Linked DNA regions of Homo sapiens: region 2 is linked to region 1. The links are contacts of gene promoters, found by promoter capture Hi-C in blood cells and fetal thymus (Javierre and others, 2016). All regions are on one chromosome and are shown on one strand. Each heading gives the region's core, a stretch centred on a gene start or on the middle of the fragment in contact. The rest is flanking DNA. Distances are from core to core; before and after follow the strand shown. Region 1 holds the start of DENND2C (DENN domain containing 2C). Region 2 overlaps TRIM33 (tripartite motif containing 33).

Evidence for each region. The method cuts DNA at HindIII sites, captures the fragments that hold promoters and counts their contacts. A CHiCAGO score of 5 or more calls a contact.
Region 2: a fragment that was not itself captured here is called in contact with the fragment with the promoter of DENND2C in region 1 in 1 of 17 cell types (total B cells); the score reaches 5.5 in total B cells.

The regions. Positions count from the first base shown.
Region 1 is chr1:114,666,193-114,672,049 of GRCh38, forward strand. DENND2C (DENN domain containing 2C) reads right to left here and starts at 3,857. Exons shown (of 21, transcript NM_001256404.2): 1 at 3,791-3,857. It overlaps LOC124904354 (a long non-coding RNA gene), which reads left to right and starts at 4,219. Exons shown (of 2, transcript XR_007066465.1): 1 at 4,219-4,458; 2 at 4,657-4,762. RefSeq lists a silencer at 3,861-3,950 and an enhancer at 4,071-4,230. The HindIII fragment of the contact is 6,814 bases long and covers 1,161-5,857 here.
Region 2 is chr1:114,466,085-114,472,168 of GRCh38, forward strand. All of the region lies in intron 1 of TRIM33 (tripartite motif containing 33), which reads right to left. It also overlaps the pseudogene EIF2S2P5. Among named protein-coding and RNA genes, the nearest start is that of TRIM33, 42 kb to the right of the region's middle. The HindIII fragment of the contact is 2,270 bases long and covers 1,772-4,041 here.

The DNA.
Region 1 (5,857 bases), core at 2,607-5,106:
ATTACTATTTTCCTACTCCAGGCCCCTATCCTCCCTTATCTGGACTATTTCAATAGCAACAGCCTCCTAACTTATCTCCCTACCTTTTGTCTCTCTTCATCCAATTCAGCCTCCAAACCATTTTCAGCTTATCTTTCCTAAACACCTATATCTAAAATCCTTCACTGGCTCTCCATTGTCTTTAGAATCAAGTCCAAAGTCCTTAGCACGATACTCTGGCTCTTCAAGACCTAGCATCAGAAGACTTTTTTCCCTCTTTTTCTGAATCATAACTTTTTTTTTTAAAGACAGTCTCACTCTGTTGCCAGGCTGGAGTGCAGGTGCACGACCTCAGCTCACCGCAACCTCTGACTCCCTGGTTCAAATGATTCTCCTGCCTCAGCCTCCCAAGTAGCTGGGATTACAGGCACACGCCACCACACCCGTATAATTTTTGTATTTTAGTAGAGATGGGGTTTCGCCATGTTGACCAGGATGCTCCCGATCTCCTGACCTCTTGATCCACCTGCCTTGGCCTCCCAGAGTGCTGGGATTACAGGCATGAGCCACCACGCCTGGCCCTAAATCTTAACTTTTTACTTACCTAAGTCTGTAATGTTATCTTATATCTTGTACTTCAAAGTATTAAAAGTACCTTTAACACCATATTTTTTAGTGAAACATTCTGCCAAACTGAACTAATTACTCATTTCATTGTTCCAAATGAAGGGAAGTGAAATACCACATTACCTAGCAATTTTAGTGATCCTAATGCAATCAGCAAGGAAGCTTTGCAATTTTATTTTTTCATCTTATTTCCAGGCACCATCTCCTTTAGCCAAACCACCCATTTCTACACACCCTGGCCTTCAGTACAATGGACTACAACACATTCCTCAAACATACCATATACTTGCACACTTATCCCTGGTTTTCATTCATATCTCCTGTTTCCTGACCCAATTTCAGCAAACTCCTATTCATCCTTCAAAGCCAAATTTAATATCTTCTCTCTAATCGTCCTCCCTACCACACGCAGAATGATTTTTCCTCATCAGTGGTTAAATTCTATCTATACTTCTTTCTTTTTCTTGCAACTCTTCAAACGTACCTAAATCTATACTTCTTTACAGCTCTTATCATGCTGAAATTGTAGAGCCTTATTTACATGTTGGGTTATAAGCTTCTTAAAGACAGGGAAGCATTTTCTCTTCTTGAATCTAATACTTAATTTACAGTCTGAGAACAGATATTTTTAACTTCTTAATGAAAGAAGTTATGAGGTGCTTTTTAATGAAAAATAAGCACCTCATATTGTTAAGATAATGCCATAACTGTTGTTACTGAGGGACTGAGAGCTTAGAATCATCCCCATGTCATTCACTGGCAACAATAACAAAAAAAGGGTTCCCACAGATAAACTATAATTACATCGTTTTAATTGCAATAAAACTGGTATTGCAATACCAGTTTATTTTTTCCTCTTTCTTTCCTTCTTTTTGAAATAGTTTTTTATAGACCTCTTTTTAAAATACCTATTAGATGTCATTTGTATCTCACTCACAGAATTTGAAACTCAGTATAGCGCAAAGGTTACAATCAGGTCCTTGGAGAATGACTGATTTGAATCCTACTTTTGCTATCTAGGTTGTCTAATCATGGGCAAGTTACTCAACCTCTCTATGCCTCTTAATGAGATAATCATAATAACATCCCTCATGGTGCTGTTGTGAGGATTAAGTAAGCTAATACATGTAAAGAATTTAGAATACTGCCTGGCACAGACTAGGTACCAATGAATGATAGCTGATGTTGTTATTGTTACCATCCGCTTTAAAAACAGCTTTTGTTTTTTCAGTACTTATTTTAGCCCACTTGGTAGAATGGAATCTCCTAGATGACAGGAATTACATACTGCTCTTACATAAATATAATCTTGTGCCTATTGTGTAGTAGGCCCTCAAAAAACAATGTGAATGTAAGGTTTCAGACCTCCAAGATCAAGAAATTGTAAATCACAGAAAAATTTATACATGGAGTACGTTTAAAACTCATGTTTTAAAGTAGCTTCAAAAGACCCATCCTCCACTGAATTGCTGAAACATGTTTAAGTAAAACTTCTAAAGCAACACACACAAAAATTACATTCACTAGTAACTTTCCCTCTACTACTTCATTTAATTTGATCTTGGTATCCAGTGGTCTAAAATTCTTGCCTATAACTTAAGACTCACTACAGACCATTTAAAAGTAATATAATTTCCAGCTTTAGAAAACTGCTTATTGTCATTAAGAAAAATAAATATTCTTCCTTTATTGCTGCATTTAAAAAACGTACTGCCACATTCAACACACACACACACACACACACACACACACACACCCCAACTAATGAAAGACCAAGACACATAATTACTACATTTCCTGGTTTCTGCCTGGCAAACTCAGAACAGGCCTACAAGTATCCCCAGCAAAAGCCTACAGGTTACAAAACTGCCATTTTCTTTTTTATTTCCCATCTCCCCGCTAAAATCCCTCGCACACATATCCATAGTAAAGAACAAAAACGTCTATAATAAAGGCTGTATGAAAAAATATGGCTATATATTAACAATATTTTGGAAGATTTAAATCTTCCTATAAGCAGCCCGTCAATTCACAAAAACAAATTAAAGTCTTGATTTGGAACAATATTCCCAGCTTACTTTAGCAGGTATCTTAAACTACAACTATTTAGCTAAGACAAAGAAGTAGATTATTTGATTGCTACAGACTTCGCGGTAAATGATTCAGCAACAGTGTATAGATAACACCACTGTGCTATTCTAGAAAATTTCATCAATCATTTAAAAATAGGACACACTCAAACAATGGGGGTCACTTTGTGGGAAAAGTTTAAACAACTTATTTACACAGTAAGCAAGGATCTATCACTTTATCTAAAACACTGCAGAAGAATCACTAGCTTTAGGGTAAACGTTTGTAAAGTGCCTACTATGTACCAGGCAAGTAGTAGTTGCTTCACAGAATATACACGCTCCACACGCACGTTCAAATATCTGACATTTGTAGAATACTGTCACTCATCTGATTTGACCCTGAGAATACCCATAGGCATGAACTTGCCAGTTTCACAGTTACGGAAAGAGAGGCCCAGGAAGTTAATTTGGCCGAGGTATCACATCTGGTTCCGCGGGTTCTGGCCCTAGACTTGAGCCTTTTGACTCATAATCTAATCATCAGCTGCTATACAGCTCTAGTTACTCAAAAGCTCTTAGGTGTTCCACTGTCAGACTTTTAAATTAAAATTCTACTTGACAACTTTCGGTATTGTGCGTATTAGATGCTGTTAAGAATCAAAACACCAAAAAAAGCAAAATATTGTTTGGAAGTGCATCGTCCCAGCATGTCGAAGTTCAAGCTCACTGGCTAATTTTGGAGAAAGCCCGCGTTTCCCCAGGCTGCCGGGCGCTCCCTCCCTCTTCCCCAGCAGAGAGCGGCGCCCAGCCTAGGGGTCCCCAAGCCCCTGAGGTAGCGAGGAGGTCTTCAGCCAGGCTCCGCCACAACCCGTGCGGCCACGAGAGGACGTCCCAAAGCTGGGCCCAACAACCGGTTGCTCCTCCGGACGGAGGAGGTGCCGAGACAGCGGGGCGCGGAGACACCACCTCCGCCAGCTCGGCTCGCACCGTCCGAGGACTACGCCGCGGCGCCACAGCCCCGCACCCGACGCCCAGAAGGGTGATGCCGACAGCCCCGAGAGTCCGAAGCCCCTGCGGCTTAAAACCCCGCGCCGAATCACCCCGACTCTTACCTGTCTGTACCTCAACGTTGTCTCCTGTGGCCAAGCTAGTCTCCCGGGTATCACTCGGGTCCGCTCCGTCCCGCCCCCGCAGGCCCTGCCGAAGGCCCCGTCCCGGCTGCAGCCCCACCCCCTAGCCCCGCCCTCCCTGGCAAGGCTCAGTTCTTATTGGCTCCTATTCCCACCCCTCACGCTATGCCCGCCTCCGACACCGCCCCGGCCGGCGGTGAGGGGAACCACCACGCCTCAAGTCCGCTGTATGGCCAGAACCTTGCCAGGACCTCGGTCACTGCAGTTCCAGCAGGCGGGCGACCAGTGTCACCGTCGTCCGGCCAAGCCCTCGAGCCAGAGCTCCATCGCCTTCGCCTGCCGTCGCATCGGCCCCACGGAGACGGCCCTATGCTTCATGTGAAGGTTTACTCTTCACAACTACTCAACAAGATAAAGCCTGGCTTAATCAGGGAATCCAAGCACTGTTTCCTAGGCTGACCTCAGTGAGCAAACAATTGCACTACGGTGCCAACTTGAAACGTCAAGAGAAGCAAATAACTCTCGCGGCACCTCAGGCTTGGAATCTCAGAACGGGGGTGCCTTGATACTCCCAGTGCGTGAGGTCAGCCCCCACGCCCTGTTGAGACACACATGCCTAAGCGCTCCGCCTGCAACACGCTCTTGCTTAGGTATGTGCGTGGTGTTGTGCCTACTGCAAGCTGTAACCCAGTTTCACCGAGGCTGCGGGACAAGGATCAGTTGAGCCTGTTTCCCAGGCACTCGCTAACCACCCCACCCCGCCTCGCCCCGCCCCACCCCACCCCACCCCACCCAGCCAGAGCCTCTTGGGTCTGGTGACCAAACTCTTCCTACATTTGTTCACACAGAGGTACCAAAATAGAAGACTACCAGAAAGAGAGGTGTTTAGTTACGTATCACGGATGACTGTCACAAGCAAACTTAACCCAAACAATAAAGGTAGCATATCCCAAACCGTTGTGAAACTATCACCTGTAGACAGTAAAACAGAAATTACATTCTATGATGGGGGAAAAAAAAGTAATGACATACTTAAAAAAAATCATGTCCCAATGAGGAAATAAATGTGGATATTGTTTGTAGTAAATTTTGCACACTGATCATTATGGGCTTCCCCCACCAAAAAAAAAAAAATTCTTATATAATGTGTCTATCTATTTATTTATTGAGACAGGGTCTCTTTGTGTCACTCACACTGGAGTGCGGTGGCCCAATCATAGCTCACTTGAAGTCTCAACTTCCTAGGCTCAAAGAATCGTCCCACCTCGGCCTCCCAAGCAGCTAGTATTATAAGCATGCACCACCACCCCCGGCTAATATTTTTATTTTTATTTTTTTGTAGAGACAGGGTCTCGCTATGTTGCCCAGGCTGGTCTCCAACTCCCGAGCTCAAGCAGTCCTCCTGCCTCAGCCTCCCAAAGTGCTGGGATTACAGACATGAGCCACTGCACCCAGCCCAGAAATGTATTTTTTGACCCCTGCATTCAGGAAGATTATTTGGCAAAATAAGGCAGGTTGAATTCCAAGTATCACGTATGAAACCAAATTTATAGATTAATAAATGAATTCACATGTATGTATTCTACTGCCCTCTCATGGGTAAGATGGAGATATACATAATGGTAGTTAATGCCCTTTGAAGTCTGAGAATACAGTGTTTAATGTAGCAATTTGTACTATTTTGATGATGAGGAGGCCAAGGTAAAATAAAATCTGGTTCTTTAAAGGGTTCACAAATACTCAACAAACAAAACTTCAACTTCAGAAATCAGGAAGAGATTCTTACACCAGAGCTAGTACAAACATGCCATCAGGGTTACACCTATGCTTATGGCTGCATGTGTAGAATATAGAAACGTGCAGAAATTTGCTTTCAATTTTTTTTCCATTTGAAAGTTCAGGCTGGGCACAGTGGCTCACGCCTGTAATCCCAGTACTTTGGGAGGCCAAGGCACATGGATCGCTTGAGCATAGGAGTTTGAGACCAGCTGGGGTGACATGGTGAAACCGCGTCTCTACAAAAGGTTCAAAAAAGTAGCTGGGTGTGGT
Region 2 (6,084 bases), core at 1,657-4,156, 200 kb before region 1:
ACACAAAAACAATTTTTCAAACCAAAGGGAGAAATAGTAAAGTGAAGAGAAAGGGGAAAAGGAAAAATATTTTCACATTTGGGAAAGCATGACTTAAAAACCTCTTGAGAAAGTGTATTATATAAAACTACAAAGAAGATAAGTATAAGTAACTGTAGAGACAAAGATATGAGAGCAACTAACTCTTCTTAGAGTAAATCAGTTAAATTTTCACCAAAAAGATAACACTTCTAATAGGGTCTTGAAGAATGAACGTGACTATACTAGTGTGCAAGAAAGGGTTTATTTGGCAGGCCTGGGTTGCTCAAATGCTGCACATTCCTTCTTAAGAAAGGCCTATCTTCAGGACTGGCCCTTTACACGTTCCTGGGAGATGACCTCTGAGCCCGTGGAAAATTCTGCCTGGTAAGAGTACTTTTGTATACCTGAGGCTTTAAGCCATACCGTGTTTGACCTCTGGGTGCACTGGTGTCCAAGTAGCTGATTACCAGTCCTGTGGGGGCTGCGTGGCAATGAGACTGATCTCCAAAACTTAGACACCAAGGCTCAGGTGAGATTCCCTACTTGGCAATACTCCCAGTGTATTGTCCCACATTGTTGCTGGGGACATCTGAAAGCATGGGTCTGCTTTCTCTTGGGCTTTGCACCATGCACCTTTTCTCTTTGCTGATTTTAATCTGTATCTTTCAACTAAATTAGGGTTTCTCCATGTTAGTCAGGCTGGCGTCGAACTCCTGACCTCAGGTGACCGATCTGCTCGCCTTGGCCTCCCAAACTGCTCGGATTACAGGCGTGAGCCACCGCACCCCGCCAGATCAGTTAACTCTTCAAGAAGTTTATATGTATAAGTGTATTTAGTCCTCATAGCAGCCCTGTAAAGTAGGTTCTATTACTATCCCCACATTAAAGGTGAAAAAATTGAGGTTCGGAGAGATTAAGAAACATTCTGAAGGTCATGTGGTGACGTAAATGCCAAGATCTGAATTCAACTAACATGTCTGTGTCTACAGCTCATGCTCTTAAGAACTATGCTAAACTATTTCTCTAATTAAAACGCTGGTCTATCAGTAACAAAAGAGACTAAACTAAGGCAGTATTAAAGGAAATGTAGAGGATAAATCAGAGTATCAATTGGACTTAATAAATGACTGTATGATGAAGGAGTACTAAGAGTTACAATGAGGAAACAAATTAGAAATTCTAGATGATTCCCAAGTTCCTGGTGTGGGTAATGCATAGATAATTACATAACTACTCAAAATGAGGAAAAAGTGTTTTAGCCAGAAATGTAATGAGTAAGTTTTGGATAGATGGTGTTTAACTAGCATATTTCTGGAGCTGAAGGGTGTGGAGGGAGCTACCAGCATGTAAATAACTCAAATGTGAAATGTAGTTATGACTGCTGAGGAAGAATATTATCAAGGACAATAACCCTTGTTACACCAATATTTACAAGTCAAGCAGAAGAAACAGAGCTCTCAAATTTAGGAGACAGCTTTCAAACATTTTCAACTGCAAACCACAGGAAGTACACTTTACATCAAAGGCCAGGACACAAATACATACCTGTCTGTGTAACTGAAACAAACACAAGTCAAACAAGGATCAACTACTTTTCCATTAACCATTTATGATTAACTTGTTACCACTGTACCAATTTACTTTTAAAATTACATAATGCGCTTAAAGTCAGCTGACTCTTAGCATGACCTAACAATCTTTTCATTTAGCCCTAGCTTCTCTTTCCAATATTCTCAAGCAGTCACACCAAAGCTTTGGTCATCAACACCACTCTCCTTTCCCTTAGAAAATAATGAAAAATTACAGATATATTTTCAGATAGAGAGGGGAGTTGAGAGAATTTATACCTACAGCCTCTAATTACTTAAGTCAGAGCCCAGTCCAAATGATAAGAGAGTCCTGTGAGTTAAGTGTTGAAAGACTGGAATGAATTATCCAAAGAATAGGAAAAAGAAGCTGGATGGAAAAAGATTGTCAAGTCGTGCCAGAAACCTCAAACTGGAGAAGTATAACCATGCCTAAGTCTAGTTCCTCTCTCCACCATGCACCTATCTCTTATTCATCTCTATTCCCACCCTATGTGCACACATTAATAAGGGGCTAGAGAGTGCAGTGGTGTGAGAGGTAACAGCAGGAGCAGCGCTGCTGCTGGGGGCTAGGGCTGATTTGTCTGACTTCCTGTCTGTGCCTAGCCCATTCGAGCTGCAGCCATGTCTGGGGATGAGATGATTTTTGATCCTACTATGACCAAGAAGTAAAATCAGCAGCAGCAGTCCTTTAGTTAGAGGAGGAAGGGGATACCCAAACAGAGGAGACCCAGCCCTTAGAAACAAAACAAGTGGCGCCAGAGCCAACTGGGGACAAAGAATTGGAAGCTGATGAAGAGAACAGTAGGGAAAAAGGTGCTTCTGATGATCTAGATGACTTGAACTTCTTTAATCAAAAGAAAAGAAAAGAAAAAAACAAAAAAGATGTTTGATACTGATGAAGCTGAAGAAGGTGTAAAGGATCTTAAGATTGAAAAAATATTCAAGAACCAGCTGAACCAGAGTATGACCTTAATATTATGCTTGGCAATAAAAAGAAGAAAAAGAAGAATGTCAAGTTCCCAGATGAGGATGAAATACTAGAGAAAGACAAAGTTCTAGAAGATGAAGACAGCAAAAAAGATGACAGTATCTCATTCAATAATCATACAGGCCCTGCTAGGGCAGTCTCAAATACACATAAGGAGCTACTGAAGCGAGTGTGCAACATCACGAGGGAAAAGAATCCAGATGTGGTTGCTGAAAAGGAAATCTGTCATCAAACCTCTACAGGTCATTTGAGTAGGAACCAAGAAAACTTATTTTGTCAACTTTACAGATATTTGTAAACTATTACATCATCAGCCCAAACATCTTGCATTTTTGTTGGCTGAACTGGGTACAAGTGGTTCTATAGATGGTAATAACCAATTTGTAATCAAAGAAGATTCCAACAGAAACAGAAAAAGTCTTCAGAAGATATATTAAGGAATACTTTTCACACATGCTGATCACTGGACACACACCTGCAGAAGAGACTCAACTCTACTTCTTACAGTGAGCAACTTATTGTTGATAATCTGTTGCAAGTACAAAACCAGTTTCCAGACTGTCATGGGCAAGCAAGCACAGCTCCGTGCCAAAGCTGACTAATTTGCTAATCACTGATTTTACAACGTGTGTTGTGGAGATTTGGCGGGACAGGTTTGTCATCAGAATGGATATACTGTTGTATTAAAAAAACAAGATTAAAAAGCTGCCAAGTTCTTTGATGAGTGGTCAGTTGGTCTGAAATTCTTGCAAGATGCCGCTGTTCAAACTGTTGACATAATCATGGCCTCTTCTCTCTCTGTCAGAGAGATGTGATATGGGGTAAGGAAGTGTTTTTCAAAATTGTTCACTGGCATCTGTAAGATAATTTAGTTCTTATAACAGAGCAAGAAAATCAAATTTAAAAAATAGAGACCTAGAAAGCAATATGTATTTGCCAAAAAGGAATGATGGCAAAAAAACAATAATTATGTTCTGGAGCAACAGGTCACTGATCTTTACTAAAGAAATTTTATAGCAATGGAGGTAGCGGCAGACAGACATTAGCATGAGCGTGGGGAACTGAAGATGTGAAATGCTGAATATGTTGCCCACTCTTACAAAAAACTTGGCAATGAAGAAAAGAGACAAAATGACCTGTCAATAGAGGGAGAATAAAGAAGAATGCTGCTTTATACAGGGAAAACTTGGAGATATGATACAGAAAGTAACTGAAATAATTTATAATAAAAATGGCTTAAATCCTATAAAATAATATCATAGAGTAACATATATTTAGATAATGTCAGTAAGTATTTCCAAAGTTAATTTTATCACTTAAGAATGAAGCTGGCTTAAGGTGAAGTCATAGTCATATATGGCCACATATGTGCACATACAATCATATACGAAGAACACTAATATCTTATAATAAACTAAGTATAACTAATATCTATTATCATAAAGCTTGTTGGTATTCTTAGGGCTTCTTATATTCTTGAAGTTATACAGGAATATCTTGTTTTACTGCATTTAGCTTTATACTGCTTCACAGATGCTGAGCTTTTATAAATTGAAGGTTTGTGGCAACCCTGCATTAACCAAATTAGTAGACGCCATTTTTCCCACAATGTGTGCTCACTGTGCGTCTTTCTGTTACATTTTGTTAATTTTTGCAATATTCCTAACTTATAAATTATTATTTATCTATTATGGTGACCTGTGAGTTCTGATCTTTCATGTTACTACTGTAATTGTTTTGAGGCCCCACAAACTGCGCCCAATGAAAACAGCAAACTTAATCAATAAATGTATTCTGACTGCTTCACTGACTGGCCACTCCCTGTCTCTCTCCCTTTCTCAGGCCACCCTAATGCCTGAGACCAAACAATATTGAAATTAGGCCAATAAATAACCCTGCAATGGCCTCAAAGTGTCCAACTGAAAAGAAGAATCGATTCAGCATGACTTGGTCAATAACAACAACAACAACAACAACAACAAGTCAAACATCTCCTACATTAAATTTTAAAAAGCTAGAAATTGTTAAGCTTAGTGAGAAGGCATATCAAAAGCCAAGACAGGCCAATGCTAGGCCTCTTGCGCCAGTTAGCCTAGTTGTGAATGCAAAGGAAAAGTTTTGTGTTTTGTTTTGTTTGAGATAGGGTCTTGCTCTATGGCCCAGGCTGGAGTGCAATGGCATGAACACTGCTCGCTGAAGCTTCGACTTCCTGGGCTCAAGTGATTCCTACCTCAGCCTCCCATGCAGTGGGGACCACAGGCTCATGCCACCATGCCCAACTAATTTTTTGATTTTTTGTAAAGACAGGGTCTCATATTGTTGTCCAGGCTGGTCTCGAACTCCTGGGCCCAAGCAATCCTCCCGCATAGGCCTCTCAAAGTGTTGGGACTACAGACATGAGCCACTGCGCCTGGCCTGCAAAGTTCTTGAAGGAAATTAAAAGTGACAGTCCAGTGAGCATATGAATGATAAGAAAGCAAATCAGACTGGGCATGGTGGCTCCCACCTGTAATTCCAGCGATTTGGAAGGCCGAGGTGGGCGGATGGCGAAGTCAAGAGATCAAGACCATCCTGGCCAATATGGTCAAACTCTACTAAAAATACAAAAGTTAGCTGGGTGTGGTGGCGTGCACCTCTAGTCCCAGCTACTCGGGAGGCTGAGGCAGGAGAACTGCTTGAACCCAGGAGGCGGAGACTGCAGTGAGCCAAGATCATGCCACTGCACTCCAGCCTGGCGACAGAGCAAGCAAGATTCTGTCTCAAAAAAAAAAAAAAAGAAGTGCCCTGCTAAATTTAAATAAACACAATTTCCATATTAAAAAATTAGAAGACCTGAAAAATGGCAATCCTGAGAAGCAAATTAGTAGTCTGCTACTAATGAAACTTCAAGACATACCTATTGAAAAAGAAAAGGATAAACAAACATACAGCAGCAACTGCAAAAAACAAAACAAAACAAAAAGGTAAAACAAAAACAAACAGGAAGAATATTAGCATTAGATAAACCTAAGTAAAAGTTAAAAAAGCATTAAATAGGAATAGTGGGAATACTGTACAACAATGAAGGACACAGTCCACAAATTGTCAAAACAAATTATGCAATTTATGCAGGATAGTAGCCACAAACAAAAGGTAAAACAAAAATGGAAAACATGTTATTTTATAAAAAATTGAATGGTTGTCAAGCTCACATTTCCTTATCCAGTTTTTGAAATACAGAAAATTATTGTATGTTTAGCTACAAAACACATTTAGTGAAAAAAACCTGACCTGAACTGTCATAAAGCTATATATATCTTTAGTTACGCTATTTAGTGTAAATACTGCTGCAGAAATATTAAGGCATTTGATTATAGGGTACGACCACAGACCATGCTGGAAATTTAAGTACCATCTTGCCTTCCTAAAATGTGAACACTTATGCATCCCAAACACTGAATATATGAATAAAATTTTTAAACTTAGAAACATAAATATTTTGTTTTC